Linked DNA regions of Homo sapiens: regions 1, 2 and 3 are each linked to region 4. Evidence: promoter capture Hi-C in human tissues and cell types (Jung and others, 2019). All regions are on one chromosome and are shown on one strand. Each heading gives the region's core, a stretch centred on a gene start or on the middle of the fragment in contact. The rest is flanking DNA. Distances are from core to core; before and after follow the strand shown. Region 1 has its middle 32 kb from the start of OLFM4. Region 2 has its middle 33 kb from the start of OLFM4. Region 3 has its middle 51 kb from the start of OLFM4. Region 4 holds the start of OLFM4 (olfactomedin 4).

The links. The method cuts DNA at HindIII sites, captures the fragments that hold promoters and counts their contacts. A contact is called where the count stands out against the background at its distance.
Region 1: a contact is called between a fragment that was not itself captured here and the fragment with the promoter of OLFM4 in region 4, in 1 of the 25 tissues and cell types used here (spleen).
Region 2: a contact is called between a fragment that was not itself captured here and the fragment with the promoter of OLFM4 in region 4, in 5 of the 25 tissues and cell types used here (dorsolateral prefrontal cortex, heart right ventricle, mesendoderm cells and 2 more).
Region 3: a contact is called between a fragment that was not itself captured here and the fragment with the promoter of OLFM4 in region 4, in 4 of the 25 tissues and cell types used here (H1 embryonic stem cells, aorta, dorsolateral prefrontal cortex and 1 more).

Annotation. Positions count from the first base shown.
Region 1 is chr13:53,056,831-53,064,342 of GRCh38, reverse strand. No RefSeq gene overlaps it. Among named protein-coding and RNA genes, the nearest start is that of OLFM4, 32 kb to the right of the region's middle. The HindIII fragment of the contact is 4,084 bases long and covers 507-4,590 here.
Region 2 is chr13:52,992,327-52,999,265 of GRCh38, reverse strand. No RefSeq gene overlaps it. Among named protein-coding and RNA genes, the nearest start is that of OLFM4, 33 kb to the left of the region's middle. The HindIII fragment of the contact is 3,771 bases long and covers 2,586-6,356 here.
Region 3 is chr13:53,076,047-53,083,347 of GRCh38, reverse strand. No RefSeq gene overlaps it. Among named protein-coding and RNA genes, the nearest start is that of OLFM4, 51 kb to the right of the region's middle. The HindIII fragment of the contact is 5,706 bases long and covers 1-5,218 here.
Region 4 is chr13:53,022,990-53,030,579 of GRCh38, reverse strand. OLFM4 (olfactomedin 4) reads right to left here and starts at 1,767. Exons shown (of 5, transcript NM_006418.5): 1 at 1,540-1,767. The coding sequence starts at 1,743. The HindIII fragment of the contact is 5,150 bases long and covers 1-3,285 here.

The DNA of each region.
Region 1 (7,512 bases), core at 1,299-3,798, 33 kb before region 4:
CAGTACAGGTTAGAGGAAGCAGAGGTTGGCAGCAGAGAAACCAATTAGTTAAGTATGCAACATTTGGCTGGGCATGGTGGCTCACGCCTGTCATCCCACCACTTTGGGAGGCTGAGGCAGGTGGATCATTTGAGGTCAAGAGTTCAAGACCAACCTGGCCAACATGGTGAAACCTTACCTATACTGTAAATACAAAAATTAGCTGGGTGTGGTGATGCATGCCTGCAATCCCAGCTACTTAGGAGGCTGAGGCAGGAGAATCACTTGAGCCCGAGAAGTGGAAGTTGCAGTGAGCCAAGTTCACGCCATTGCACTCCAGCCTGGGGGATACAGTGAGACTCCATCTCAAAAAAAAAAAAAAAAAAAGATGCAACATTTGAGGCATAAATTAATGCAGAGGATCAGCCATGAGAATAGAAAGGATTCCAGGAAAGGTAAATTCTAGATCCAAGAAAGAGAAGATGGAGAAGAAGCTTAACAATACCCAAGCCAGGTAACAAACATTCCCTGTACCGGACACAGAGAGGGCATCAGCAAAGCTTCCCTGTGATGGGGTTGTTGCCCACACACTGAGAAGGGAAGCCAAGTGCCTGGAGAGTACCCTCGCCAGGACCAAATTCATTAAGGATTTGAGGGTAAACTTCAGCAGTAACTTTCTAGCAAAGAAGTGATATTATCCATCCAACAGCAGACCGAGCAAAGAACCCACGGGCTTGACTGTTTTGAAAGTTTTTAAATACAAGCATGATGGAGGATGCCATCCCACTGATCAGAAGACTTAGGATTAGATTAGCTGAGCTTTAGAGGTCAAGTTCAGGTTTAGGTAGCCTCCAAATCAGTATACACAGGATTTTCTTAGGAGGAGGTCCCAAAGGATCCCCAAACCAGAGACATTTCCAACTGTCCTAGACGCAGCCCAGGAGAGGAAGGAAGAGGAAACTGACTCCTGATTGACCAAGGATATTAGTTAGGAATTTGACTACCCCTTTCACAAAAACAGCCCAGTAGGAAACCTTGGCCTGTGCAGCTTTGGGGAATGAGCTTTACAAAGCGAAGCGCTGCTCCTTTTTGCAAAGCAACTTGGCAGTATGGATTAAGATTCTGACAAGTGTTTGTATTTTGACCCAATAATGTACTTAATCTATCCTAAGAACATGATGAAAAGTGCAGACAAAGATTTATATTCTCAGAAGTTTATAAAGCCAAAAAATAAAATAGGGAAAACAAAGTAACTTGCAATAATAGGGAAATGATTAAATAAATTATGATATGTCTATGGAATAATTTGTAGACATTAAAAATCACTTTTACTCAATGAGATAAAACCTAAAGATTTGAGGGCCCTGTACTCATTAGCTACTGCCACAATAAAGTTGCACAATTACCTCCTCCCCTCAAAAATCATGATTTTTAAAAATAAGGGAAGTTGTCCACGAAAGAATTTTAAATGAAAAAAGCAGCCTACTAAATTATACATACATTAGGAACTCATAGCTGACTAAAATATACATACATTAGGATAGGAGCATGTGTCTGTAATTATATCTTCTGTCAGTCTGTACATAATGGGAAGAGAAGCAGTCTCTAAGACTAAGGCAGACTTTATTTCCTTCTTCATATCTGTGTGAGCTCCCCAATTTTTCTGTGATACATGTGTATTAACAAATATTTACTGAAGACTTGGTATTTACCAGGTGCGGTACTAAGAACTTTACATATATATCACCTCCACTTAATCCTCATTGCGACTACAAAATAAGCACAATCATCACAACCATTTTACAACTGAGGAAATAGAGGCTTAGGTTATTTGCTCAAAGTCACCTATCCGGTGACTTTGAAGCCAAACTTGAAGTCAGACCCAAGGAGCCCCAATTCCTCTATACTTAGTTACGACATTAACTCTCCCCGATGATCAGTATGTATGTATGTGTGTACTGCTTTCAATTCAAAATTGCCCTTTCTTTACAAAGGAGTACAGAGTGTTTAATAGAGAAAAGCATGAGCTTCAGGAGCTAGACTATGGTTTTCTGCCAAGTAATTCACCATTTATGCTAATGCCACTCAATACCAAAGACACCAACTTCTTTATGGTGGGAGGAATGTGGATATAAAGGTCAAAGAAAACTACTTTCCATTGCTAGTAATTAGCTAATTAAGTAAAATATGTTAAGTAGTTAACACTAGAACTAGTAATTAGAGTTTGCAAGTAGAATAAGAACAAATAAGAATGTGTTTTTTACTTTGAAATAAAATGAAATGAGAAAAATCCACCCATTTTCCCCTTGGGAAGCCTAAGCCTGTTTCTTTGATAGGCAGAGCAAGGAAGGGGAAGCACACTGATGCCCACCCAGGCTCCTGATCCAGCCCAGCCTGGCCACCTGTCAGCTGTGTGAAAACCTTGGGTAGGTCACTTAGCCTCTCTGGGTCTCAATTTCCTTATCTATGGAGCAAAGGGGTGAGTCTAGATGATGTTTTGGTTCATTTCTAGCTCTGATTATCTCTGCTTTTATGCTTCTGTGACAAAATCAATATACTGGATAAACCCATATCTGAAAAGGCTAGTCGACTATCAGGCACAGGAATCTAGCATTTTGCACGGTCCTTCTCCTGTAAAAAGCAGGGTCCCCGCCCTTCTCCCCAGCCTGGAAGCCCCAACTGAGATCCCATGTCTTAGCCAAAGCTTTCTGCAATAGAGCAACCAAAATAGGGGTGCAACTAAGGAGAAAAAAGTGGAGTCAGGGAGGGTAGAGAATAGGGTACCCTAGGGATTGCCAGAGTAATTCCCACCAGGCTTCTTTTTTGGAACTGCAAAGAGCATTGCATTCTGGTTCCTTTTTCCCCACTCTTCACAAGCACGATCTGTGAGCCTAAGGGTTCATCATTCTAGAAATTGCCAAGCTAATTTATAAAGTGAGAAAAAGAAGTTATTTTCTGTGATGTAGCATGATTTCTCCCCGATAATGCAGGCTCTGGGCTGGCAGTGCCTGGCTTGCTTCTCCTCTACACCAATTGATATTCTGCTCACAGCGTTGCACACAGGAGAGTCAAGGCCAAACCCAGAGGATGCACAATAGTAACAGGCCAAGAGCAGGCTGTTTTCTGGGAGACAGATCCTGTTACCCTCTTGTTGTTTGGGGATAGCAAGAAGTAGAAAGAGGAGCAGGCCTTCAGCAGTGTCTGAAAGACAAACACCCGTGCTAAATCACTACAGGATCTACCTGCAGGAACTTCAAGGAATCAAAACATAACTCTGAGCTGCATGGTTTCCGGTAAACAAAACACTCCCTGTTCTTTACCCAACTGTATTCCTCTGTTCAGCAGCCATACAATTGCCATTTCGTAAGCCGGGAGCCAGGCCATGCTAGGCCCTACGGAATATATGAAGTTGGATGAGTGGGGCTAGACCTGGATGCTGCCTGTAATAGGTATAAAAACTGAAACTAAATAAAAGGTTGACTGTGGGCATACTCCCTTGGCGAGAAGACAGCACATTTTTCTCTTGTGTAAGCCTCCCCCTGCTGCGCTTAAAGGTTCTTAAGTACTAGAACTGGAAGACAGGATGAGGATAAATTGGAAACTAACGTTTATTGACCATCCTATGAGGCAGACACGGTGCTAAAAACTGGAATATATTATATCAGTTAACCCTCACAACTACCACATTTCATAGTAAAGGAAACTGAGACTCAGAGTGTTTAAGAAATTTGACCAAGGTAACACAGCTCATAAATTGTGGAGCTGGGAGGATTTGAACTCAGGTTTGATTGCCTCCAAAATCAGATCTATTTACACTATGTCATACTATCAGCTCACCCATATGTTGAGTGCCTGCTTTGTGTGTGTGTGTGTGTATGTGTGCATGCGTATGCATGCATGTGTGTGTACACATATCTCCAAAGTCCCTCTTCTACAGAGAGGCCAGGACGAGTGATCACCCTTCACTTTGCTGGTGCTGGAAGCAGATATGACTTTGTCCTCCCCCTACTTTGAGTACCTCCATCACACAATACCCCTACTGTCTAGACAGTGGGCAAGAACCCACTGGGCATCTACACTACCACACAGCCACATCTTCAGCATATTGTACCCCAAAAAAGTTCCATTCAGCCCACGGGCCACAAGTAGACTAGCCTGCCATGCCATTTTCCAAAGCCTTGTCCCTGCTGCCAGGCCTGCGGCTTTAGTGCTAAGCAGTGATCACAGCCAGCATCGGGGGCCTGAGGAGGAATCAGGGACCCACAGACAACGTGTTCCATTTCAATCTGCATTTTTGGTGCAGTTTGATGTATTTTAGGCTTGCCTTGGTTTTTTTTTTTTTCCACTTGATTCATGTTTCTATTTGTCACTGAATTGCTATGTGAAGGTAGAAGCATGTGTCTCCTTGCAGCTTCCCCAAAACCAGACCAAAAGCAAGGAAGAGAGAAACAAGTGACAAAACAAATATCCTTTTTCTATGAGGTGCCTATAAATAGCGTGATTATAGGATTTATTGTTCAAATTGGAAGCCTTCTGGGAGTAAAAGGTGCTCACTATTAATAATTATACCAGGACAACAAGCATGAACAGAGTGAGGCAAGGTCTCACTGTTGCCCAGGCTAGAGTGCAGTGGTGTGATCTTGGCTCACTGCAGCCTTGACCTCCTGGGCTCAAGCAATCCTATCACTTCAGCCTCATGAGTAGCTGGGACTACAGGCATACACCACCATGCCAGGCTAATTGTTGTTGTTGTTGTTGTTGTTGTATTCTTTATAGAGATTTGGTTTTGCCATGTTGCCCAATCTGGTCTTCAACTCCTGGACTCAAGTGATCCGCCCGCCTCTGCCTCCCAAAGTGCTGGGATTACAGACATGAACCACTGCACCCGACCTGCTGTTGTTAATACTCATGAAAAACAAGGGGAAATAAAAGAGTTTTTTCTTGAGAAGGGGTGGAGAAAGGAGGCCCAGCAAAGGTAGGAAAAGGTGTCTCTCCAACCTTTCTGTCTCATTTTCCTTTCCCTTAAACTGTCCAGATGTTCCTCATCAATACCAAGCTCCACTTTCCTCAAAGTCTTTATGCTCCTCATTATTCAAACTTTTCAGGCAAGTTTTAAAAAGCATTCTGAATAAATTCTCTTTGCCAAAGATATTTGCATTTTAACTGTGAACAAATCTCTGAGGCAAAGGAATGGCTCTCAGCAGCCACGGAATCGGAATTGTACACCAGGTGGGCAGAGGCTGCCTCCGTTCTCTTGTGAGGCCCCTTCATAATGAAAAAGCACCTCCCCCTTCTTCACTTTGCCAGAGGGCTTAAAAGGAATAACCTGGCACTCATGCGAATTGAATCCCTGGGATTAACTGGCTCACAGCTTTATCGATACAAGGTTGATGAGAGACAGACGCCGGAGGTGCATGATTGCCAAGCTGGCACTCTCACCTGTGCAGGAGAGGGCCACAGGACGCACAACTCTGCGATGCCTCACGGATGTTGGGGGCCCACTCCAGAATCCCCTATTTCAGTACGACAAAAATGAAGTTTCTCCCCGTCGGCAATGATGGCAGCCATGCAGACCAGAGCTCTGCTGCTGGCCCAATCTGCAGCCAAATGACAGCAGAGCGGCACTGAGAGAGAGCTTCCAGGGTACTTCTTGATTGGGTGCAGAGTCAGAGTCTACTAATGGCCATTTAAATACCAGTCCCATTATCTGCTTCGCTATAGAACTACCCACCAGATGTGTAACAACCATAGTTACTGGTCTGTTTGCAGCTGGTTATACCTTCTCTGGGCTCATGCCCTATTCATTTAAATGGCTGTTTCTCCATCTGCTTAAATGAGAGAACCATGATACAGCCCCAGGACATGTTCCCTCACACACACCCACAAGATGCCCAGTGCAGGAGAAGGAGGGAGAACAGTGTCATGGTCAGATGACTGCAACCATCTGAGTTTTATGAAAAACAACATTTAAAAAGAACAACTATCCTATTGCCTCCAGAGTATTTTATTTTTCTGCTGGGAGAAGAAAAGCTCTCTGAATGTTTTATTCAGCAGGAACTAGAACACTGTTATTACAAACTTTCTTTCCCAAACTAATTCCCTGAGCTTATGCTGCCAGAATTCCTCCTCTCCAGGGCAGTTCTGCCTTCACTCATTGACTTCTCAGATCCTGCTAGAAAATCTGCCACCCAGGCTCCAGCAAGCAACAGATCATCTCAGTGGGGCTGTAAAACTCAGTGTAGTGCAGCTCCACCAAGAATCGTTCTGAGAAAACTGATGAACTGCGTGGTATCATTTGAAAGAATAAGAAAACTACCATAACTTGTCAGGATGCTCTTCAGGTGGAGATGAGGGACTGTGGAAGACCCCAGGGTCCCCCTCTGCACTGTCACCTCCCAAGAGCAGTAACCTGTTGGCCAAATAACCCCATAATTCTTCCTGGGAAAAGTTTCAGCCAGTATTTCAGGGATGATGAACAGGAGAAAATAGGGGGTATGGGATATTCCAAATTCTGGAAGCTTCTGGGTGGTTCTGATACAGGAGATAGAAATTATTTAGGCAGATAGGATAAAAGAGCCTTTGGCAGAATTTTCCTTTTAACAAAAAAAGCAACCCCAAAATCATTTCTTTTCTAACAAAGAGCAGCCTGAAAAATCGAGCTGTAGACATAGATAAGCAAGCTGGAAACCTGCACAGGGGAATGCCGGCAGCTGTGCCAATAGAAAAGGACTACCTGAGGGCCAGGTATGTTCAACATGGAGGCTCCATCTTCCTTTTCTTTGTCACCATGTGCACAGTAAAGAAACAGGCAACATGGTGCTGGCCAGGTAGAGAACCCATCTGCATAATAAAAGATTAGGCCAGCTTTCCACACCCTATGCAAATGGCACACGTGGTCCAACCAATCTTTCATGCCCTATGTAAATCAGACACTGCCTCCTCAAGCTCATCTATAAAATCCACTGCTTTTCACTGCAGAAGTAGAAAACCTGCTTGGGACCCCTCTCTCTGCAGGAGAGAGCTTTTCTCTTTCTTTCACCTATTACATCTCCACCCTTAACCTCACTTCTTGTGTGTCCACATCCTTGATTTCCTCGGTGTGAGACAGCGAACCTTGGGTATTGCCCCAGACAACAAAACCACTTCAGTTCTACCCAGAAACAGAAGAGATTCTTACCCAGAGACAAAAAAGAATTGAGGGGCCTGAAGCTCTCCTAGGACACTGATGGATCACCGGAGAGAAATTCGCCACGTGGTGCCATGTGACTCTGATGAAGTCTCGGGGAGGGGCTATAAATTGTAAAGCCCAGCTCCTCTTCAAAAGTTCATTTGGGGCCAGGTGCAGTGGCTCATACCCATAATCCCAGCATGAACCACTGAGCCCAGGAGGCTGAGGTGGGAGGATTGCCTGAGGTCAGGAGTTCAAGACCAGCCTGGCCAACATGACAAAACCCTGCCTCGCCTAAAAATACAAAAAAAAAAAATTAGCCAAGTATGGAGGCACATGCCTGCAATCCCAGCTACTCAGGAGGC
Region 2 (6,939 bases), core at 3,222-5,721, 34 kb after region 4:
AGGGCAAGTCCTATATAATCCAGAAGCAACATCTTTGTCTGGTAAGGTACACTTTCAGTTTCACACCAAGCCCCAGTTCCTACTAATATCGACTAGAAAGAAAAAAATCAAGCCATTGCATAATGCATCTTGATTTCATTAAACCATTTTGATAGTCCTTCTTGATTACTCTGTCAGCCAAGATGGAGAAACACAGGCTGGAAAACAGTCCTACTCTGAATGAATAGCTAGCTGGACATTTTACTCAAAAAGTTTATTAAAGGGCTGATGTCTTACTCAAAGGAACTCTCTAGTACCATGCCACAGAACTTTCTCTCCCTGATCCCTTTATGGGCATGTTCCAAGGCTTTGAGGCAGAAACTGAAGGCTTACTTATCAAAAGTGAAGGTGACACCAAGATAAGAGGAATACTTTCGAAAAAAAAATTTAAACATCAATAAAGTCATACAAATAAAATTAAATGTAGCTAGAACAAATGTAAAATTCTGCATTTTGGCTCAAAGAATTTACTAGAATAGGTGAGAGAATTTAATTGATAGTGGTTTGTGTGAAAAAAAGTGTTTCTGTCAACTATGTGACATGATTGCGAAACAAAAACTAATGCAATTCTTTATTGGAAATAGGAAAGAATTGAACAAATGAATAAAATCTGGCCCATATTTCCAGGCTAGTGAGGTCTGAGGGAATGAGGGGTGGTCCCAGTAAGTCATGAAGCAGTGTTTCTTTAAGGCACTGAGTCATCTTAGAGGGATGTCTCACGTACACTCCCCTTGAGACCTCCTCTCCCATTCCTAGTAATGGTTGTGTAACTCCTGGGAAGATGTGTCACAGAGGCTGCTGTGACACCTCCTGAATCTCCATCTTTCACCCCTAATATTGTTGACAAAGCAGCTTTGGCTATTACATTTGATGACTTAGAGAAATTATAGGTTCAACCCTTTCTAACTCCTAACTCCCACCCACAATGCCCTTTCCTGAGAGTCCATTATCCTGCCACACTGGTGCTCATCAACTTTTTTTCACATTATGGTGGCTTTCTTTCTGTGGCCTCTTGATTCCATATGTAAATAGACCAAATGGATCTGCCAGCCCAGCCCTCTGGACATACTGGACTTGTCTTATGGCTCAGAGTATGAACTCTGAGGGACTTGCCCTGCACATATGGCTTCTCTGCATTAAGATTCTGCTTAGATCAAAAGAGGTCATAACCCAGGTGTGGTTCGTGATGATTAACCCTATTCTCTATTTCTAGATACGGTGTTGTAAGCACATTCTCAAACTGGAAAACTTACAGACAATGGTGAAGTTTCTAGAGACCACATGTTTGGAGAAATGGCTAAAAGCTTGGACTACTTGTCTTGGAGAAAGATTAGTGCACATACAACATTCATCTCCAAACATTTAAATGGTCATACCACGGGGAAAAAAATAATAACAAGCATATTTTGTGCAGCTCCAACACAAATAACTAGGTTGCCTTTCTAACAATTAAAGCCAATCATAAATGAAATGAGCTGCCTAGAAAAGTAATGATTTTCCAAGTACTGGACTTATTCCCAGCATATTCCTGAAGGCCACAGGGCAGGATTCCTGCAGAAAATACTCCTACTTCGATAGAAAGTTGGACCAGATGTTGAGTTCTTTCCAAATCTAAGGTTTATAGGCTGCTGGATCTCTGTGTAGACTGCAGGGGTGCTCTGTGATTCCCATGTACGTACATGGGTCCCTGAATATCAAAAGATAGGCAAGAAGGTACAGGGAACTTGAGTTGTCAGTCTATCCTCCTGATTTTATTACTGACGATGAATGAGATTCTGGAAATTACAAAATTTACCTAGATCAACTACTCCAGTTTATATCCTTTATCAGAAAGATTTCCTTTTTCTTACTTCTAAATCTCTTGGCCTGACTTTTAAGCCCATTTCTTCTGGCTTTATGCTCAGTGAATATGAAGATCAATCAATCATATCCCTCATTATACCAATTCATAAAACTAAAAATGTAGTGCATAAGGCTTCTTTTTTCTAAGCTGAGAAATTCCAGTTCATTTCCTGTTCTCCTTAAGCATCTTTTCAAGTGATCTTTTCCCCCAGGTTTCTCTAAAACTGAGCACAGAACTTATTATGACTCCTTGTTCTCTATAAGGGTCACATGTCTGGAAATTTGATTCTGTCATTTCTAAGTGTTTTCCAAATATGTTAAATAATAGTTGTTGGAACATTCATTAATAGTTGTTTTTTAAGTGCTGTATGGAAAAGTAAATTAGTAAAAAAAAAAAAAAAACCATTCCAGACTCAGTAAGGTTAATCAGACTTCTCAGAGCCCTCAATATGCATCATGAATCTCCTAGACCATGAAGAGTACATGTATGTAGCATCTCCCAAACCTACTGACACCAAGATCTCTTTTAGAGCATCTCAAAGGCTCAGTTGTTCCAAAAATATATATATGTATATATATTGGGAAGTGCTCCTCTATAAAACAATGCCTAAAACCCATATCCACCCCGCAGAATTCTGTATACTGAAAACCTCCTCCATCCCCGTGGCCAAGTCTTCCTCTCCTTTCCTATAGGAAATCTCCCCAGCCAGGCTACACTCAGTCTCGCCTTCCCTATACCACTAATGCTAGCCTTCTCCTTATCTCCAAGCCTGATCCTTTTCAAACTTCAATTTCAGTTTGAGCTGAAATGGTGTAATGGAGTAATTATGAGAGATGGAGGTGACCAGAATCTCAACAAAAGAAATCCCTTCAAGAGACAGATGAGACAGCAAAGAATAGAAAGGTTGCCTTGCCCAAGTCACACAGCCAAACGGGAAGTGCTGGGACTAAGATTCCTAGTTCAAGGCTCTTTATGCTGCTTCAGTGGGTGGATCTGCTGGCAGGAACTCACTGAAAAAGACATATTCCTGAGCCTCATTCTGAGCCTCACTCTAAGCCTCCTGAATCAGGCTCACTTGAAAGTCAATTTTTAAAAAAGATCATAAGAGATCCTGATATTCCACCAGGCTTGGGAACCACCATTCTATATAGCACCGTCTCCCAAAGTAGGGTCATATGTGTAGTCCAACCCAGCACCTGCTCCCAGTACTATTGAGTTGTTTGGATAAGTGAACTTATTTGAGCCTCTGTTTCTGTACTATAATGACTTGATTGGGCCAATAAACCTATAAGATCCCTTCCGGGAATTTGATTCTGTCATTTCCAAGTGCTACCTTAGTTATGCTCAGTGGTTACCCATCTATTCTGGCTGGAACTGTTCTCTCTAGTTTCTGAGGCTTTATAAAACTATTATTAAGGGCCAAATTATAACATGCTATATGATATAGCATCTTAGAATAATATTTTTGGAGTGTCTCCAACATGCCAGTTCTGCTACAAATGTTATTGCTAATGCTTGCAACAACTCTAAAGGTACGAATATCCCTATTTTAATATAAAGAAAAGAGGTATCTTTCATGTGAAATGGAAATTTCCAGGATCATACCACTTTTAAGCTGGATTTCTAAACCAGGTCAGCCTCATTCCAGATGCTGTGCTCTGTCCACAATGCCAGGCTGCTTTTGAATGTGAGTCATGTTTCCTCATTAAAAGCAAAAGCTCTCCTCATCATGGATCCCCTACAACACTAGCATCTAGCTGAGCATCAAGTAGCACTCAATAAATATTTGTTGACTTGATTAGTGGATTAGCTCTCTCCTTCTACCTGGAGCACAGACCACATCTTTTTGATGCGAAAACATGCTAAACCCCTAGACCATCTGCAAATTTTCCATTAGCTCAGAACAGAAAATTACAGCTGTGTAGACCGCACCTGTAGACTCAAGCTTAATTAATAGGTTTATCTTGGATTGAATGAGTTGCAGATACTGTACCTTAAGCCAAAGGCACTGGGGAACATGTTGATGTGGAGAGGGCATGTTTCACTTCTCTTGTTTCATACTATTAAAACCATGTTAATGAAAATGTATTATTACTTAGTAATAATAATAAAGATGAAAATCCTCCCCCTCCTGATCCCTTACAAATGTTGTTTTTCACTTTGAATCCCAAATCTCCAGAGAGAAGTAGGAGGGAGTGTCACAAATCCAGATAATGATCTTGGGTATTACACTGTTCATTTGGAGCTCTGATTTAGCTAAGCTGACAGATGTTGGGGAAAACATGTCTAGCCTGAAAACTCTCTGGTGGCTGCCCAGCTGTGGCTGCAAAGAGGAGTGAGGTTTTGCCAACAGAGCTTCACATTCATTTAAATTCAAGATTTGACATGCAGAATCACCCTGCTCTAAAGGTAGAAGTTGAAGTGTTGTGACATTAGGAACTGACTCCAGCCTGATGCTTTGGGGTACTGACTTCCATCTAACCACACAGCTCACTCTGAAATCCTTGAAATTACTATCGCTGATTATGTCCTGCTGTCTTGACAAAACCTGCCTTCATCATGACATGCTTACCATTACACCAGGAAAAAAGAAAAAAAAAAACCTTTGTGTTAACCACAATCATGTGACATTTCCTTTGTTCTCTCCCCAGAGTAGTTTTAGAAGAGGGGAATGTTTAATTCACCTTTAAATAATACCGATTTCCCAAGTGACAGTCTGAATTCATGTTATTTTTTCTTCCAAAATAAATAGGCAAGAGGCACCGCGGGAAAAGACGCACTCTAGAGAGACAAAAAAAACTTAAAGGGTGACCTTTGATGCCCTTGGACCTTAGTTTTCTCACCTGAACATTTTTTAAAGGGCATTTTGATCTCAAAGGAGAAAATCTGCTAATTAAATATAAGGCAGAAGGTCAGCTCCTTCTCAGTGAGCTGAGGGTGGTCAGCCCTCAGCTCAGCCTTCAGAGAGCAGAGGTAAGATGAAGACATTGCAAGAGTCTCGTCTCTGGGCTCTAAACCCCAAATCAACAAATGAAGCCTGGATTTCAGAAACCCATAGCACAATATTTACAGCACCTAAATGGCCAATGTGTTTTCTGAGAAGCAGAGGCTTCCTGTAATCTAGTATATGTGGCTTAGAGTTTGAGTGTTAATTTTTATCACACTAAAGGCTGCGGTAAGGCAAAAGTGAGGGAGGTGCTTGTAAATGCAGTTAAACTAATTCATAGAAGAAAAAAAAGACATCAATGGTTAATTTGTCACTGTAGATGATTTCTAACCACAGGTCTCTTAGAAATGCTGGTGTCCTAAACATGTTCTTGGAAACACTAGCCTCCTCACTCCTGAACCCCTCCCCAGCAAGTAAATAAATGCATTGGCAAATAGGATTTGAAAAGAGCATTTTAATAAAAGAGGAATGACTTAGAGGTCAATGAGCCAGTAGGACTGTGGGGAGACCACCAGCCCCCAGCCCCCACCCCTGGGTCATTACTGGGGCCTTGTGACTACCCTCTTGGGCTGCTATTTCCTTCTCACATTCTGGGCCCTAGCTATATTACAAATATTTTAAAAGTCATCCATCTCATTTAGATGACATTAGTAGACCATTGTACCAGCAGCAGTGCTTCTACAAGCTCATCAAAATTCACCTGTGTCTTGATACAAAAAAGGAGAACAAAAGTACTACTGCAGGGTCAATTATCCATGAGAATGCCCAGAATTTGCATTGCACCTTTATTCTAAAAGGGCTTCAAAATCATCAGGGGAAGGCATCTACCTCTGATATAGCTGTGCAGAATGTTTATAAGGTAAAGGAGAGAGAGCAAAATCTCTCCCTCCCTTTGTCTTTATGAACCAGGAAACAAAAGCTCCTAAGTGGAGAGAGTTTATGTATCATGTTCAAGGTCAACCAGCCCATTCTTCACTCCTTCATTCAACAAACATTCATGGGGCATCTTCTTTGTGCCAAGTTCCGAGAATAAAAGGATGATTAGAACTCTGTGTCCTTTCCCTCAGAGAGGCTCCCAGGCTTGCTGGATGAATAGATTTGTAAAGAGATTGTTATAGAGAGATAGTGAGGCAATAATTGAGATGTATATAAGGAAGCACCTATTTACCTGGAGAGGGACAAAATCCAGAGTAGAACCTAAATTTTAAAAAGCAAAACAAACCAAATACCAAGCCATCTCTCTCCCAGATGAGTGGTTCTCAGCTTTAGCCACACACTGGAATCACCTAGGGTGATTTTTCCAAGTACTGCTGCCCAGGCCTTTCCACAGATCAGTTGAGTCAAGCTCTCTGGTATGGGGAACCTAAACCTTTATGTTTATAAAAGTTTCTGTGACACAGTATCACTTGATAACTACCATATTATCTTAGGCCAAGGCCATCTCCCCCAAAGCCTGTAGGTTATGTAACAGTGCAACGTTACCTATCTCTTTATGTGTGTTCTATCTCACCTTCTAGATCATCAGCCCCTGCAGGATAGTAACCAGGGCTTTCAGCTCTTCTACACCCCATTCACTCCCCATGGAACCAAGCATACCATAGTTACTAGATAAATATTCAATAAACACATCTAACTCAATAAAGAAGATAACAAAAGGATGCTTGAACTTGTCCCTGAGTGTCTTAGTTCATAACTCAAAGGCTGAGGTTCTGCCAACACAATAATGAAGTATAACTGGTGGATTTAATTCAGCTGGATCAGAATGATGTGTATGATTACTTGCAATGACTTGATGATCAGCCACTATCTGCTAATGAGTTTTTCTCCTGGAAAAGTGTGAAACAAAAAGTGTTGCCCGAGAGAGCATGCTGCCATGTGTCAGAGGGCAAAGGCCCTCAATTCCAGTGAAATGGGATTTTTTTTTTTTTAATGAAGTTGATGGCCGCCAGCTCTTAGCTGACAGTCAATGCATATAGAGGGAAATGAATTCAGGCTTTTGTTGAATTAACTGCTGGCCTTGTAAAACAGAAGCAACAGGGAAGCTGCGCCATGTTTGGGGTCCACTAAATCAGTCAGAGGTTTCCAGCACTCAAGTCTCCCTGACAACTGT
Region 3 (7,301 bases), core at 1,116-3,615, 52 kb before region 4:
TTTAGGCTTTTGGGAAAAAAACTTAGTTTCCAAGATCACACTATGTGCAAAAACAAACTCTTTTATGTTCTAGAAACTATAAAAGCAATAAAAAATATATAATTTTGAAATTATTCTAGTCTAGGAAATTCTTTCTTAAGCAGGAGGCAATACCTAGAAATCATAAAAGAAACTGTCAGATTTACTTTATATAAATTTTAAATTTCCTAATAGTAAAAGTCAAAATAAAGTCAGAAGAAAAGTGTCATATTGAAAGAAATTATTAAGTATTAATTATTAAAATGACAGAGTATTTACCATTCAAATTATATAACAAACTTCTACAAGTTAATGAGATAAATATGAAAGTCTCAATTTTAAAAATAGAGAAGCGATAAGAACTGGCAATTTACAATAATAAATAAAAATAGGCAACGTTCACAGGAAAGATTCTCAACCTCATTTAAAATAAGGAAAAAGAATATTTTTAAAATTTAAGCCCAACAAATTCAAAGAAATTTAAAATATTGATAATTTCATTCTTTGAAAAACAAGTACAAGAGTACATAACTGAATCTATTTTAGAAGTCATTTTTGACTACATTTTCAAGATTTTAAATGCTATACTCTTTGATCAAAAAATATACTTCTAGAAATCTTAAAGAAATATTTGTGTATGGGCACAAAAATGTATAGACAAAATATCTTTGAAGTAATTCTTATAAAAACACTTTTATTTAAAGAGGGAGTGGCTAAAATAAACTGTTTCATCCATTCTATGGAATACTATGAAACCGTTATAAAGAATAAGATACCCGTATGTGAAAGGCTTCCAGAACATTGTTATTGTGAAAAATATCACCAAAGACAGACACAGCATGATTGTATTTGTGTTTTTTAATTAACAAATTTGAATCACAATGTGTGTATACAAATGTGTGTATATGTGTGTGTATATGCAAGCATGTATATGTGTGTGTCCGTGTATACATACCCACAGATGCATAGAAAGATCAATGAGGGACTGAACAATAAAGCATACCTATTGGGAGGGGATGTAAGTTGATGGGGAGAGTAATAAGAAAAGCTCAAAATTTCTCCATATATTTCTAAATTTTTTAATCTTTTTAATAAAAATATAATTACACAACATTTATATAACATTTTCAAAAACGAAAGTTGAATGACAATTTTGAACGCACCAAAAATGACAAGGAGAATTAATATCATTTACAATCCCATCGTGACCTTTCATAAATGAAAATCTCATCTCTGTGCAGTGATCAATGACTCCCCATTCCCTCCCAGATAAATGGCAAGTACTTTAGCCTGTAGTGCTTATATCCCTGTCTCCTTCCTAGCTTCATATCCTATTCTCCCCAAACTTGCAACCTAACATCTGACCAGGACTTGAAATATCCTGAATACACGTGCTATTTCTTCTGCCTGAAATACAATCTTCTACCTTTGTCTGGCTAGCATACTCTTGTTCGCCCTTTATTCCCCTTTCTGTTTCAACATGAAGGTATTTTTGTTAAGGCTTTTCTCTCACACTATTAGGTTATCTCCTCTGCAATGCCATCAACAGTTGAGAGAAGGGATGCCTCGGTGCCTGTTGCTCCTCACCTACCTTCCCAATCACTAGCAAGAGAACTGGCTCACAGTAGGCCACACGCCAAATGATGAATAGAGAAACACAAAAATATAAGGACTCAGCAGCAGCTGCAGCAGTGGAGACTCAGCTCAAAAAGCACTGCATTGGACTACCATGGAACTTGACTGGGTTTCATGGCTTTCTCAAGCAACACCTCACACCTGGACAGCAGAAGTGGGGAAAGGGAGAAAATGCACCAGGGAAGGTTGTCGACAAAGTGAGCAAAGGACAAGGATCACCATTCACTCTGCAATGGTGCTGAGCACATGGTTAAGCGGCGTTGCAGCTGGCCAGAGAGCCAGAGCTGAAGCAGAAGCCTGGGGGGCTGAGGTGGAGGTAGGCTTAAAGGCAAAATGTTTCAGAGTATTTTTTCCCAAAGTAAGCAAATCGGTATTTATTCAGGGGAGGAAAGTCTTCCATGATCAAATGTTTGGGAAACACTGAATAAAGATGGAGATAATTCTTATTAGTATGATATCTCAGAGACTTGAGTTTGGTAAAGTGTTCCATTAAGAATCTTCAAAAGCAGGGTGCTGTACCAGTTTTTACCAAATGTACTTGACATCATGTATTAGTTTGCTAGGACCACTGTAACAAAGCACCACAAACAGGGTGGTTTAAACAATAGAAATTTATTGTCTCCCAGCTTTGGAGGCTGGAAGACCAAGATCAAGGTGTCAGGAGGGTTGGTTCCTTCTGACTGTAAGGGAGAATCTGTTTTCCTGCCTTCCCCAGCTTCTGGGGGTTTGCTGGCAATCTTTGGCCTTCTTTGGCTTGTAGATTCCCCCGATCTCTGCCTCATGTCCATATGGTGTTCTCCCTGTGTGGGTGTCTATCTCCACATTTCCTTTATAATAAGGACACCACTTATACTGGATTAGGGGCCTTCTCTACTCCAGTATGACCTCATCTTAACTGGACTAATTGCACCTGCAACAACCCTATTTCCAAAGAAAATCACATTCTGACGTACTAGGCATTAGGATTTCAACATATGAATTTGGAAGGGACACATTTCAACCCAAAACACACAGTAACCGTTTGGCATAAAACATGTAGCAGAACTGGTATCCACTGAGCTCAGTTTTGGTAAGATCTGCCAAAATAGATTGTGTCACAAGGTTCAGCCAATTGAGAGCTAAAGATAGGGGCTCATTCACTGAGTCCCTAGAATGTACCAGGCAACCCAAGAAAGGTAATATTGTATGGAAATTTTACAAATGAGAAAACAGATTCTGATCATTCAACACACTAGCTAAAAGTGACCAGGCTGCGATTCAACTCAAGGTCTGTCTCACTACCAAATCACCTCTGTCTCTCCACTCCAACTCACTGCTTCCCAAAAGAATATAAGCGTCATTAAAACAAGATCCTTGTTGTGGAAATAATGGGGTTATTTTTCCACCCCTCACTAATGCCTAATCCATACTGAAAAGCGGATGAGATTTGAAACAAAGCAAAGCCAGTGAGGCTTTCTTCTCATCATGGAAATAAATCTGTTTAATACATATGAAGCACTCCTGGTTAAATGTTTACCTTTTGAACCCTACACTGAAGGAAATGGTTTCTTGAAGCTCTGGCTAATCTTTTAGCAAACTGTCAAACTAAAAACTTGGGTGCTTCTTGATGGGGATTTTAACTGCACTATTGATTATAGTGCAGCTAGAAACCATTTTCAGGCTTATCTTCATATGATTTAATTGACACTGAGACGTGTTTTAATTGAAACGTTAGACTTCCTCAGTAGAACTACCCTTTGTTTCTAGCAAGGCAATCTAGCTTTTATGTTTTTAATCGCCATCTGTTGTTCAATAAATGTCAAATCGTTCCTAATGGTCTCTCTAAGCATAGGGTTGTTTTTTTTTAATTTGCTTTTGTACTCAGTGTTCGTTATGGGCAAATGAGTCCTTGCCGTAAAAGACCGACATTTCTCATGGTGCTCCAGTCCCGTTAGAAGGAAAAAGTGATTAGAAATAAAGAGACAAGAGAAATGTTGCTGCTTTTTTTTTTAATTCTTCTCAGCAGTGGAGAGATTTAGAAAGTCTATAAAAATGTTTCCTCTCAGCAGTGCTAGTGATTTTAATCCTATTCAAAGCATTTCTTAAAAAATACAGAGACCTCCAAAAATCTTTGAGTCATTTGAATTGTCTCAAATGATAGAGACTAATATATAGCAGAGGGTTAGTAGAGAGAAATCCACTAGACACAGCCAAGTTCAAGATGTACCAAGGAGCTCTTGACTTTATAAGGCAACAGAGATAGCTTTTTAAGTCTGTGACTATTTTGTAGGAACAAAGCAAGACTGATGCAAGAACCCCATAATTCAAGTTCCGCCATGGACTCTGATCTGATTCACCTCACTCTCCAGAGGTGGAGGAAGAAGATGGACACTAACTTCAGACAATGCTTAGTAAAGGGAAGGAAGGAGAGGGCTTCCCCAGGGAGATACAGAAAATGATAGCAAGAGACACAAGAGTGTTTTGCTCTTCCTCATTAGTTTTCTGACACAAAACATTCTCCATGAAATGTCCTCTTCCAACATTAAGTAACCAAATGACACCAGCTCTCTGGAGCCCTGGAGAGCCCTATAGATGATTATGTGGCTCTTGGGAAACGGGAGGGGGTGTTTGTGGAGATTTGTGTGTATATTAGGTCACAATCAGCTTTCTAACCAAGAAGTATGCTTGATTGCATGGTTCAGGGTTTACAATATTCTTCAAGGGCTGGGAGAAGTATATTCTAAAAGGTAATTAGAATTGGTTGAAATACAGAGCTATAAATGGGTGACTGGCGAGATTTTACAAGAAACAGATCATAACTCAACATTCTAATGACTTTTTCTTTGGAGAAGGTCAGCAAAGCTATTAACAAGGGAAGTGGGCATGCAGAGTTCTCCATCCCAGACTGTGACTGAACTTTGAACAAATCCTTCATCAGAATTCTGACTCTAATTATCTGGACTGGCTGCCTTTCCTCAAAAGCAAACACGAAGAAGGACTAAATGGGCAGCTGGGCTTCCGATGGCCCTTCTGCACTTTTCTAGTTCTCTTTCCCCAAAGGAACAAGAATAAAGATGTGGATGAGTTCATTTTTTCAGGTACTATGGCCAAAAATCAGTGCCATGATGTAAAGCTTTGGGAAACCTAATGACTAGGAGTACGTAGGGATAGCCTCTCTGAAGTGAAAGACAAGTTTTGCAAAACAGTAAGTTGTTATAAACATTAAAGTCCCCCAGACCTGGGTAGAATTTCCCACACTAAGCAGGGAAGATAAGGCTTCATAACAGTTTCTCTATCAACCTGTCCCCAGCCTGAGACATGGGTGAACACACCAACATGGACCATAGGCCACAATGGAATTTAGAAGGAGGACTCAACCCCAGTGCTCCAAGTTGAGAACATGAGGCTGGATAACTTCCAAATAAGCCAGACTTCCCCGTTACCACCTTGTGTTCTTTGTGTTTACGTCAACTATACTGGTCATTAAGTTTAAACTATGGTCAGAGAATATGTTGATTTATTTCCCTACTCCTCATCCTTCAAACTCAAAATAGTGCCTGCAACCTCAACAAATATTTGTTAAATTTAAAAAATTGCAAACTAGGTGATTTCAGAGGAGCCTCAGAGCAGCTTTGAGCTCCTTTCAAATTATCCTGCTCTCCCCCCGAAACTTTGGGGGTTGGAGACAGAAGTCCTTTTGGACTTCTTTCTGCTTTTTCTAGGCAGCCAGCATCTCTCTATCCTTTTGTTCCTCTGGAATCTACTACTGACTCATGTGATTGATTTAGTTTGGATGTATGTCCTTGCCCAAATCTCATGTTGAAATGTAATCTCCAATGTTACAGGTAGGGCCTGGTGGCAGGTAAGTGGATTTCTCATAAATGGTTAAGCACCATCCTCTTGGTGCTGTCTTTGCAATAGTGAGTTCTCCTGAGATCTGACCATTTAAAAGTGTGTGGCACCTCCCCCTCTCTTGCTCCCACTTTTACCATATGAGTGCCGTAGCCACTCCCCCTTTGCCTTCCACCATGATTGTAAGCTTCCTGAGGCCGTTCCAGAAGCTGAGCAGATGCCAGCATCACGCTTCCTGTACAGCCTGCAGAACCGTGAGCCAATTAAATCTCTTTTCTTATAAATTACCCAGTCTCAGGTATTTCTTTCCAGCAATGCAAAAACGGACTAATATAGTGATCTTGACCCTAGGCTTCTCCCTCTGCAAACCAAAAGCCAAGATAACCACGAGAGTCAGTATCAACAAAATCATCCTTCCAGCTGCAGCACTTCTTCCCCATGCCACCAGGCACCCTCATCAAACTAAACGATTTGGACCCAGACTCTAGAATCAAAGTGTTGTCAAAAGTCAAAATTCCGAGGGACAAGAGAGAAATATGTCTCGGACCATCATATCTTCCTTACAGTATTATCACTCCCTTAATAATGCTTATTTCTATGATGTCCTGTCCTATATATGTCTTATAACTGCCCTATGTGTGATTTCTTATATCCTATGATTATATAAGTTCATCATTTCCTTTGTTTCCAACACTAGATCCTGTTAACATTCATGTTGGACTTAGCTTTTGTTGCTCTCAGCTTCCAAAGAAACTGGAGAATTAATAGGGGCCCCTAACTATGCTCCCTTATATCAGTAGTAGGCCCAGCCTTAGCCTTCAGATTCCCGGGCCCACTCATGTCCTGCCTCAGCTCGCCTGAGGTCGGGTTAGTTCCTGACACCCCTGGCTCTGGACATCATGCAGTCACGCTCTGGGGATGGTTCTGTGTAACCAAGGTAACAATACGTTGCCTTAATTACTATTCGAAGATGTTTGTTGTGACAGGACACCAGGACAGCTTTTCCAGCCCCCCGCTGTTAAGAATTCTAAAGGTTAAGGCCTCCAGTAAACTGTGATTAGGAAAAAATCAATGGAATAACTGCATAATCATCCACTATATTTAGTAGGCAAGTGATTTCCAGAGTAACCTGGCATCTCTGCCCCGCAGCCTTCTTCAACCCCTCAGGAAGTCTTCTGGCCAGAACACATGATGCGTTTCCAGCCTAGCACCTGGAGCAGGGCCACAGGCCCCGAACATCTCAGCATCTCACCTAATAAAAAGGAGTCCAACTCCAAAAGAAAAAGAAAGAAAACAACTTACAGTAAAATGGTTGGGTAAGGTAGTGCTGGTTCATAAAACAAAACTGTTATACAAAATTCCAGCCAGTTTTTCTTCCCTTAGGTTCATGCAAGATACAGCCCCATTTCTTAGATTGCTGAAGATCTGGTGGTGAGTGGTCAGTCATGTCTTCCACATACTATGGGCTCTTTTTTCTGTGGCTTTTCTGCCTTTCAAGAAATTCCTTTCTCTTCCTTCCAATGCTGGTTTGCTCTTCTTCCTCTCAAAAAAAAAAAAAAAATAGCTGCTTTTCAGAAAGTCTGTCATGTACACCTCAGTGTGTCATGAAATTCACTTATGGGAGGAGAGAAAAGATGATTTATTGAGTACTTACCATGTGCCAGGAACTGTTCTAGGTGTGCCACATAGATTAATCGATTGAAGTCTCACAACCACCGAATGAGATACTTTGCTATTATCTAATTTCCATTTTACAGATGAGAAACTGAGGCACAGAAAAACTAAAAATCTTGCCCAGAGTCACACAACTAATAAGT
Region 4 (7,590 bases), core at 518-3,017:
CCTGTAATCCCAGCACTTTGGGAGGCTGAGGCAGGCAGATCATGAGGTCAGGAGTTCGAGACCAGCCTGACCAACATGGTGAAACTCCATCTCTACTAAAAATACAAAAATTAGCCAGGCGTGGTGGCGGGTGCCTGTAATCCCAGCTACTCAGGAGGCTGAGGTGGGACAATCGCTTGAACCTGGTAGGCGGAGGTTGCAGTGAGCCGAGATCGTGCCACTGCACTCCAGCCTGGGTGACAGAATGAGACTCTGTCTCAAAAAACAAACAAACAACAACAACAACAAAAAGATATATATTATGTACTTAACCTAGTCCTGGCATTTATTAGACACACAGTAAATGTTATTGCTGCTGTTTCTATCTAGGCCCTATCCAAATCATTTGTTAATTATCACATTTTTATTATCTGTAATTTCTGATGGTCAAAATAAAACAAATAAAAGTCTTTTCCTCCCCCTTCTCCCATTTGCCCTTCCATTCAAGCATGATAATGTAAGCAGCTACCTGACCTGTGAGGAAAGATCCTAGAGGCTTAGAGAGAGAAGCTTTGGCCCAGATAAGACTCCCCCACCCCAAGTTATACCTTAGCAAAAATAGCCTAGGAGGTTTGCAGAGTGGGGTTCCCGCAGAAAGGCCCAGAGTGAAATGAATAACTGCTTCTTACCTCCTAACCTCTCATGCCCTCCAGCCCATTCTCCTTTCTTTAAAGGAGATCCAAAGAGGACTCATCCCCCACGGAACTGGCTTACTATGCCTTCAATGCACTTAGCCTAGCTGTACCAGCCTCGTTGTAATGCATGACTTTTGGTTTTGTTTGTTTGTTGCTACTGTTGTTTGGAGCTGGAAATGGTCCTGAAGATTCCCTGTAAAGAAGACTGCAAAGAGTGAACACTCCCCTAGGCGAATGTCCACTGGTAATAACACTTTGCTAAAGACCAGTAACTCCCCCCTTATTTCTGACACCCACCTCCTTTATAAACCAGGCCAAGAGAAATGGTCAGGGCTTCAACTAGGGCACTGCGGCTCTCACTCCCTCGAGGGCTACTGTTCACCATTCCGGGATCCTGCCAGGCAGCAAAACAACTGGACAAACTTCCCAGAGCTGCAACTCACAGAGTCTTTCCCTAACAGTTCCCATCTTGGACTATATATTAGAATCACCTGGGGAGAGGTTTTTTAAAATATTTGATTTGTATACATCTATGTAGGATTTTTTTAAGTACAGAACCCAGGCATCTGTACTTTTAGAGTCCCCCCGGCCACCCATTCTAATGTGCAGCCAGATTTGAGAATTCCTCTAAAGCATAGATATTCCCAAAAGTCCCAGCTGGAGAACTGCGATATCGTCTCTCTTGCTAACAATTTAATTATTTTACTGAGGCTTTAATTCATTTCCGGGGCACCTATAGTTAACAAAATGAGTCGTAAATCTTTTAGAGTGCCCAGGTCTAGCCATCCATGAAATTGTATTCAGGTACCCAAAAGCAAATGGAAGGGAATGAATGCAGCTCATTCAGATTCTGGGGCCTCCTCACCTGGGACACAGAACCTCCGCTGCCTAAGCTGCGGCTGGAGCTGGAGCCCGACCTGGAGCTGGAGCTGAAGCTGGAGCTGGAGTCAACACCTGGGAAAGAGCTGAAGCCGGGGCTGGGAATTGGAGGTCCCACATCCCCCAAATCCCCTGCAGCTTGGCCAAGGAAGAACAGAAGGGCTAGGAGAAATGAGAGGCCGGGCCTCATCTTGTCCTCTTAGCTGGAGCCGCTGGCTCTGCAGAGAGCCCAGGGGCTTCTTATAGTGCCCAGTGGTGATTTCCCCATGGCCAGCATGTAGGAAAAGAGGGAGTGGCCAGGGAACGTGTGAACTGCCCCAGGAGGTTCAGGACACCCAGGAATCTGAGTCATGGCCCACACCTTGTCAGTGAGGCCCACTCTGTGAGCTGCCCTTGGATCCAGATATCCCCTGCCAAACATTAACTCAAATGTGCTTTGTAAAGCCCAATATTTGGTTTCCCACTTGGTACTTCCTTGAAAGAGATGAGACCAAAGTAGTCTTTGTGGATGACACAGAGTTTGGAGGCTCCATGGAGGAAAAGCAACCCTCAGTCCTTTGCCTCACAGCACTTCTAGTGCTCTCCCCCATTTTACTGAATACTACTTTTCACAGACAGTTAGGGAACTTGCCTTAGGGACTGTGGCTCTCCTCCAGGAGCGACTGAGCTTCCCTCTTCAGTTCCTATTGCCCAAGTTGTCGTTGACCTGTTCCTTACAGTGACTGTTTCTAGACAAAGTTGTCTAACAACCCCACTCTGAAGGAAAGACCAGCAACGTTTTGTTCCCTGGCCAACCAGGTAGGACTCTGCCCTATCAAGTACTCACCACTGTATGCTTCATATAGGGAAGAGAAAACACCCAAATAAACAAAGGGATCCCGATGACCCAGTGCCCGCTCTCCCAGGCCAGGGCACTGCCTCAAACCCAGTCAAGGAGGACCCCAGGAGCAGTTTCTCTCTCCAGAAAACTTTGACCTCTATTGCCCCTGAGCTTCTTGTGAGCCAGCCAGGCATTCAAGATCTCAAGCTTATTCTTCATAAAACTGAGAAATAAGATGCATTTTCTCTTGCTCAGCAGCTCTGACCCTGGGCTCCAGGATCCATTTGCCCTGCTCAACATTTCACACACCTTTGTGACCTCTGCCTTCTTCCCTGGAGAAAGAAAAAGGTGTTAGTCTCGGTATTAAGACCCAGCTCTGGGCCGGGGATGCTGGCTCGCACCTGTAATCCCAGCACTTTGGGAGGCCAAGGTGGGAGGATGGCTTGAGCTCAAGAGTTGGAGACCATCCTGGGCAATGTGGTGAGACCCTGTCTCTACAAAAAATGAAAAAAATAGCCAAGTGTGGCGGTATGCACCTGTGGTCCCAGCTACTTGGGAAGCTGAGGTGGGAGGATCACCTGAGCCTGGGAGGTTGCGGCTGTAGTGAGCCATGTTCACACCACTGCACTGCAGCATGGGTGACAGAGTAAGGCTGTCTCAAAAGAACAAAAACAAACAAAAAAGCTGTGTCACAATGAGTCGGTGGCCTTGAGCATGTCACTTAGCCCCTCTAGGGTTGTAACAATTCCTAAATTGTTTGAATTAAATGAAATATTGTATGGGAAGTTGCTTATGACTTTTGACGTGCCATAAAAATGTCAGCTTTTTCATTGTTTGTTTAATTTCCTAAAGACTAGATCAATATGTAAGATTGCTGGGTTCAAAACAAGGAGAGAAGGTTCATGCCCCACTCCACCCCACCCCAGAAGCTCCACACAAACTCTCAGAATAAGCACAGTGCTAATGTGAGAAACAGGGTCTTAAACCCCTGGTACACTATTCAGAAACTGGGGTGGTGGGGAGGGGGAAGGGGAGACAGGAAAACCACAAATGGATGGATAGAGAGTGAAGAAGAACAGATAGGGAGAAATGTGGGCTGTAAAGTTCATTGTTCTCTGTGGGAAGCAGTTCAGCCTTGGCCTCTTTGGTCAAATGTTCTAACCACTTAGATCCCCAGTCCAAGGCAGGGAATGCATACAGAATGTGTGAGAATGAAAACTGGGAGACTGAATCCATTATTCTAAGATTGAATGCAATGAATATGGACATAAGGAGAAGAATGTGTCTCTACCTCCCAGCACAATTCCCCTCTTCCTCCCGATTCCCACCAAAACAAATGGCAAATCTGTTCTCATTTGCTAGTAGCCTCTGCATGTGGCTGTAATGAGCCTTCCTTGTACCTTTTTTCAAGGAGCATGTTGGTGCCCTGTCAGAAAGAAAATCTCATTAACAGTGGTATAGCCTGTAGTCATGACTACCTTTAAGGTCTCCTATGGCCAATTCATTAGAAGACCCCTTACCAGAGGGGTGGCAATACTGCAGAAATGGGACAGCAGTTCTCCCAAGCACAAATGTGCCTTAGCCAGGGAAGAACCACCACCCACTGTGCTCATAAGCTTCTTTGTTCTTGTATGGCTCCAGAGTTTCCAGAATAAAACTTTAATCTATTTGGTAGCCCTCAAATGCACAAAAGCATTGGTGATGCCTCCGTAATGAGATTATTAATAATAATGAGATTATTAATAAAAATAGTTTGATCAGTTTCCCTGCAAATACCTTTGTCCTAAGAAACAAGCAGCCTCCTGGTTGTATGACAGACTCAAAGACAGGAACAAAATTATCAGAGCTGCAAAGCAAAGTGTATTATTTGTAAAAATGTGTTCTACCCTGGGCTCCTTCTAGAGTAAGGGGTCACCGAAATTCACATGAGTAATACAGCAATCTTCACTGACAGTTTGAAAGAAAGTTACTATTTATGCACTTCATTAGGGGACCTCCCCAAACCGTACTTCTTGAACAGTTGCAACACACAAGGAAGACATCCGTGTAGACATAACTTTAATTTAATCCTCCTGTCATTAAAAATCAAACATACTGCTGCATTTTTGCAGGAGGGTATCTATGGGGTATCTGGTGTATATGAGGAAAACAGAGGCTGTGTTTGGTCTACAGATTGGTAATAGAGGCTTTTCATATCAGTTGACTACATCGTCAACAACCCTCAAATTTCTATTAGCAATATCAACAATCGTGTATATAAGTAATAATCAGCTGACCCCATTTATTTACCCTGGAAAGTGGTCCCTCAGTTAACAGTGTGTGTTAGAGCCTACTCTGTGCAGAACATCAGGCCCTATGATGATAAGGAAAGAAGAATGCATAATTTTTTCTAATGAAAATGCCTAGTCACTTACGGAAGGCAGGCCACTTCAGGGAATATACTAGGAATAAACACAAATTGAACACAAAACCAGTTAAATGAATACTGAGAAATGACTGGATAGACTCCAGAGACCCAAGATGGGTTGAAGTGTGAAGAATTTGCCAGGTGCTGAGCTTCTTAGGGATGGAGACCATGGCTTCATTGGTTTTCAATCTCCAGCACCTAGCCCAGTGCTTGGCATTTGGTGTCTAATAAACGTTTGTACACTGAGGAATATATTTAATAAATGAATGCATGCATGCATGAATGAGTGGATTGATTTAATAAGAATTGTGAAGGAAATTCTTAAATAACTATTGGAGAAAATACTTATTTTTTTAAAAATTAGTGTTGAAGAAAAGGGAGTGATTTCCAAGCAAGAGAAATTGTACAAGTTAAAGAACATAGGCAACTCAAATTCTCTCCAGGGTCATGATTATGCCCTTGTACCTACAATCTCATGTAGCCCACTCTAGCAACTCATACTTGGATTCGAGTTCTTAAGGTTATTCCTCAGCCTGACCTGAACACCAAATCAACATTCTCACTCCCTAAGCCTATCCTATATCAAGAACTACCTAAATTTTGCCATGTTATTGTGGTTTAGAAGATCAAAACCCCCAATTACAGAATTTTCAGCCAAATACTTATGTTTTCAATCTGCAGCAAAATCATTCCTGTTGACAAAATGCAGAACCAAACTAGTAAAAATGGCAACTAATGGAAAACAGGGCAAACTTCTACGCAAATGCAGAAAGGCAACAACTGAAGTGTTGAAAGGTAGCATGTACTAATTTGGGGGGAAAAAGAGAAGCTTTACACCCTCCACAGAGAAAGTTTGGACTAATGAGCCATAACAGTGCCCAGAAGCCTTTCCCCACCACCATCACAAGGGGTGAATGGACTCAGGAGACACCAAACTTCAGGTTTATCTCTGGACCCTACTAGATGGAATCTGCCCAGAGACCTAGAACCAGACTGCCCTCTAAATTCCTCTTGCCATCTCCCGACTAAGCATTGAAGCACACCTTCACTTCACCTCAACATCAGTACCTGGGTTTTTCATATCCCATACCTCTTGGATATTGTAAATCACCCACGGGTTCCTCCAAGGCCAGGTCAGTTGGTTTCTGCAGCTAGAGGCAAAGAGCGTACTTGCCTTGCTCATCTGTCCCAATACAGAAGCCTTTGCCTGCCTCCCATCCAAACCACCTGAGCTACAGCACCTGGGTTCTGAGTGACAACTGTTGTCTCCATAGTTAGTTGCACATGTCTAACCTCCTACACCTCTAACTGTGAGAAAGAGGCAAACTCTTCCTGCACCTATGGGACACTGTCACCCGGAAATTTTAAGTACGACCACTGCAGCGATTTGAAGCATTTTCAAATTTAGTCATACCTTCTATTTTTCTGTTGCTGTTACTTCCCTGCCCGAATATTCTCAGTCTCTGTGTTATGGACTGAATGTTTGTGTCTGCAAAATTCAAGGTTGAAATCTTAAGCCCTAAGTGATGGAATCAGGAGGTAGGGCCTTTGGAAGGTGATTAGCTCATGAGGGTGGAGCCCTTGTAAGGGAATTGGTGCTCTTATGAAAAGAATCCCAGGCAGCTTTTTTTGTCCTCTTTCCTCCATGTGAAGAAAAGCCGATACAGTCTGTAACCTGGAAGAAGCCCCTCACTAGAACTTGGCCATGTCGACATCCTGATCTCAGAATTCCATGTTCCAGAACTATCTGAAATAAAATTGTGTTGTTAATAAACTATGGCATTTTGTGACAGGAGCCCAAACTAAGATACCAGGCAAATGCTAAACCCCAGCTGGGTGTCAGAATTCTGCACTTAATACTTCGGGGCAAGTCAATGGAGTGAGAAGGGCAAAGAGTCCAAAGAGTCCAAATTACTAAGCAAAACTATTAAATCTACCAAATTCCTAGCTGAGTGACTGAGCACAAAAGCACAGCATGACCTGAACTTTACAATATGGCAGCCACTAGCCCTGTATGGCTATTGAACACTTGAAATGCAGCTAGTCCAAATTGAGATGTGTTTTAAGTAGAAAATACACACAGGATTTTTTTAATTTAGTGTAAAAGAAAAGAAGATAACATAACTCATCAATAATTTTTATATTGATCACATGTTGAAATGGTAATAATTTAGATAGAGTTAAAATATTTTATTAAAATTAATTTCACTTGTCTCTTTTTTTTAAATGTGGCTGCTACAGAAAAATTTTAATTCCATTTGTGGCTTCCATTATATTTCTATTGCACAGTGCTACACAGAGCACATAGCACGATTAGCTATGATAGAGAAGCTCCTGGAGGTTGCCAGAACATAGGAAGTTTACCAAATGTCTCTTCCCACTCACAGGAGGTTAGCTAACTAGGTGGGTTGCTGTCATTTCTTCACAAATGTTAAATGTTACAGAAGTTCTCTCCAAGGAGCCTCAAGATGAAATTAGACACATGTTACTCCTTATATTAAAAAGCTTATCATACGAGAGAAATGAAAAATATGTCAGTGCTAATTGGGACAAAGTGAAGGAATTATGTCAAAAATTACCTCTGCAAGAGTAGCCACATGGTACTTTACTTGAGCCCACGTTTTTAAAAAGCAAGAGATTTCACATGAATTTCTATGTTTGAGGTCCCTTTTTTGGAGAAAGAAATATCTCATAATGCCAGGCTTACATTCCCCATGATCTCAGTGAGATAGAGTGACAACAGAGGCCCCTTTGAGTAGCACACACTCTCCAGTTTGCCACAGTCCCCATCATCCACACCTGGTCTCTTT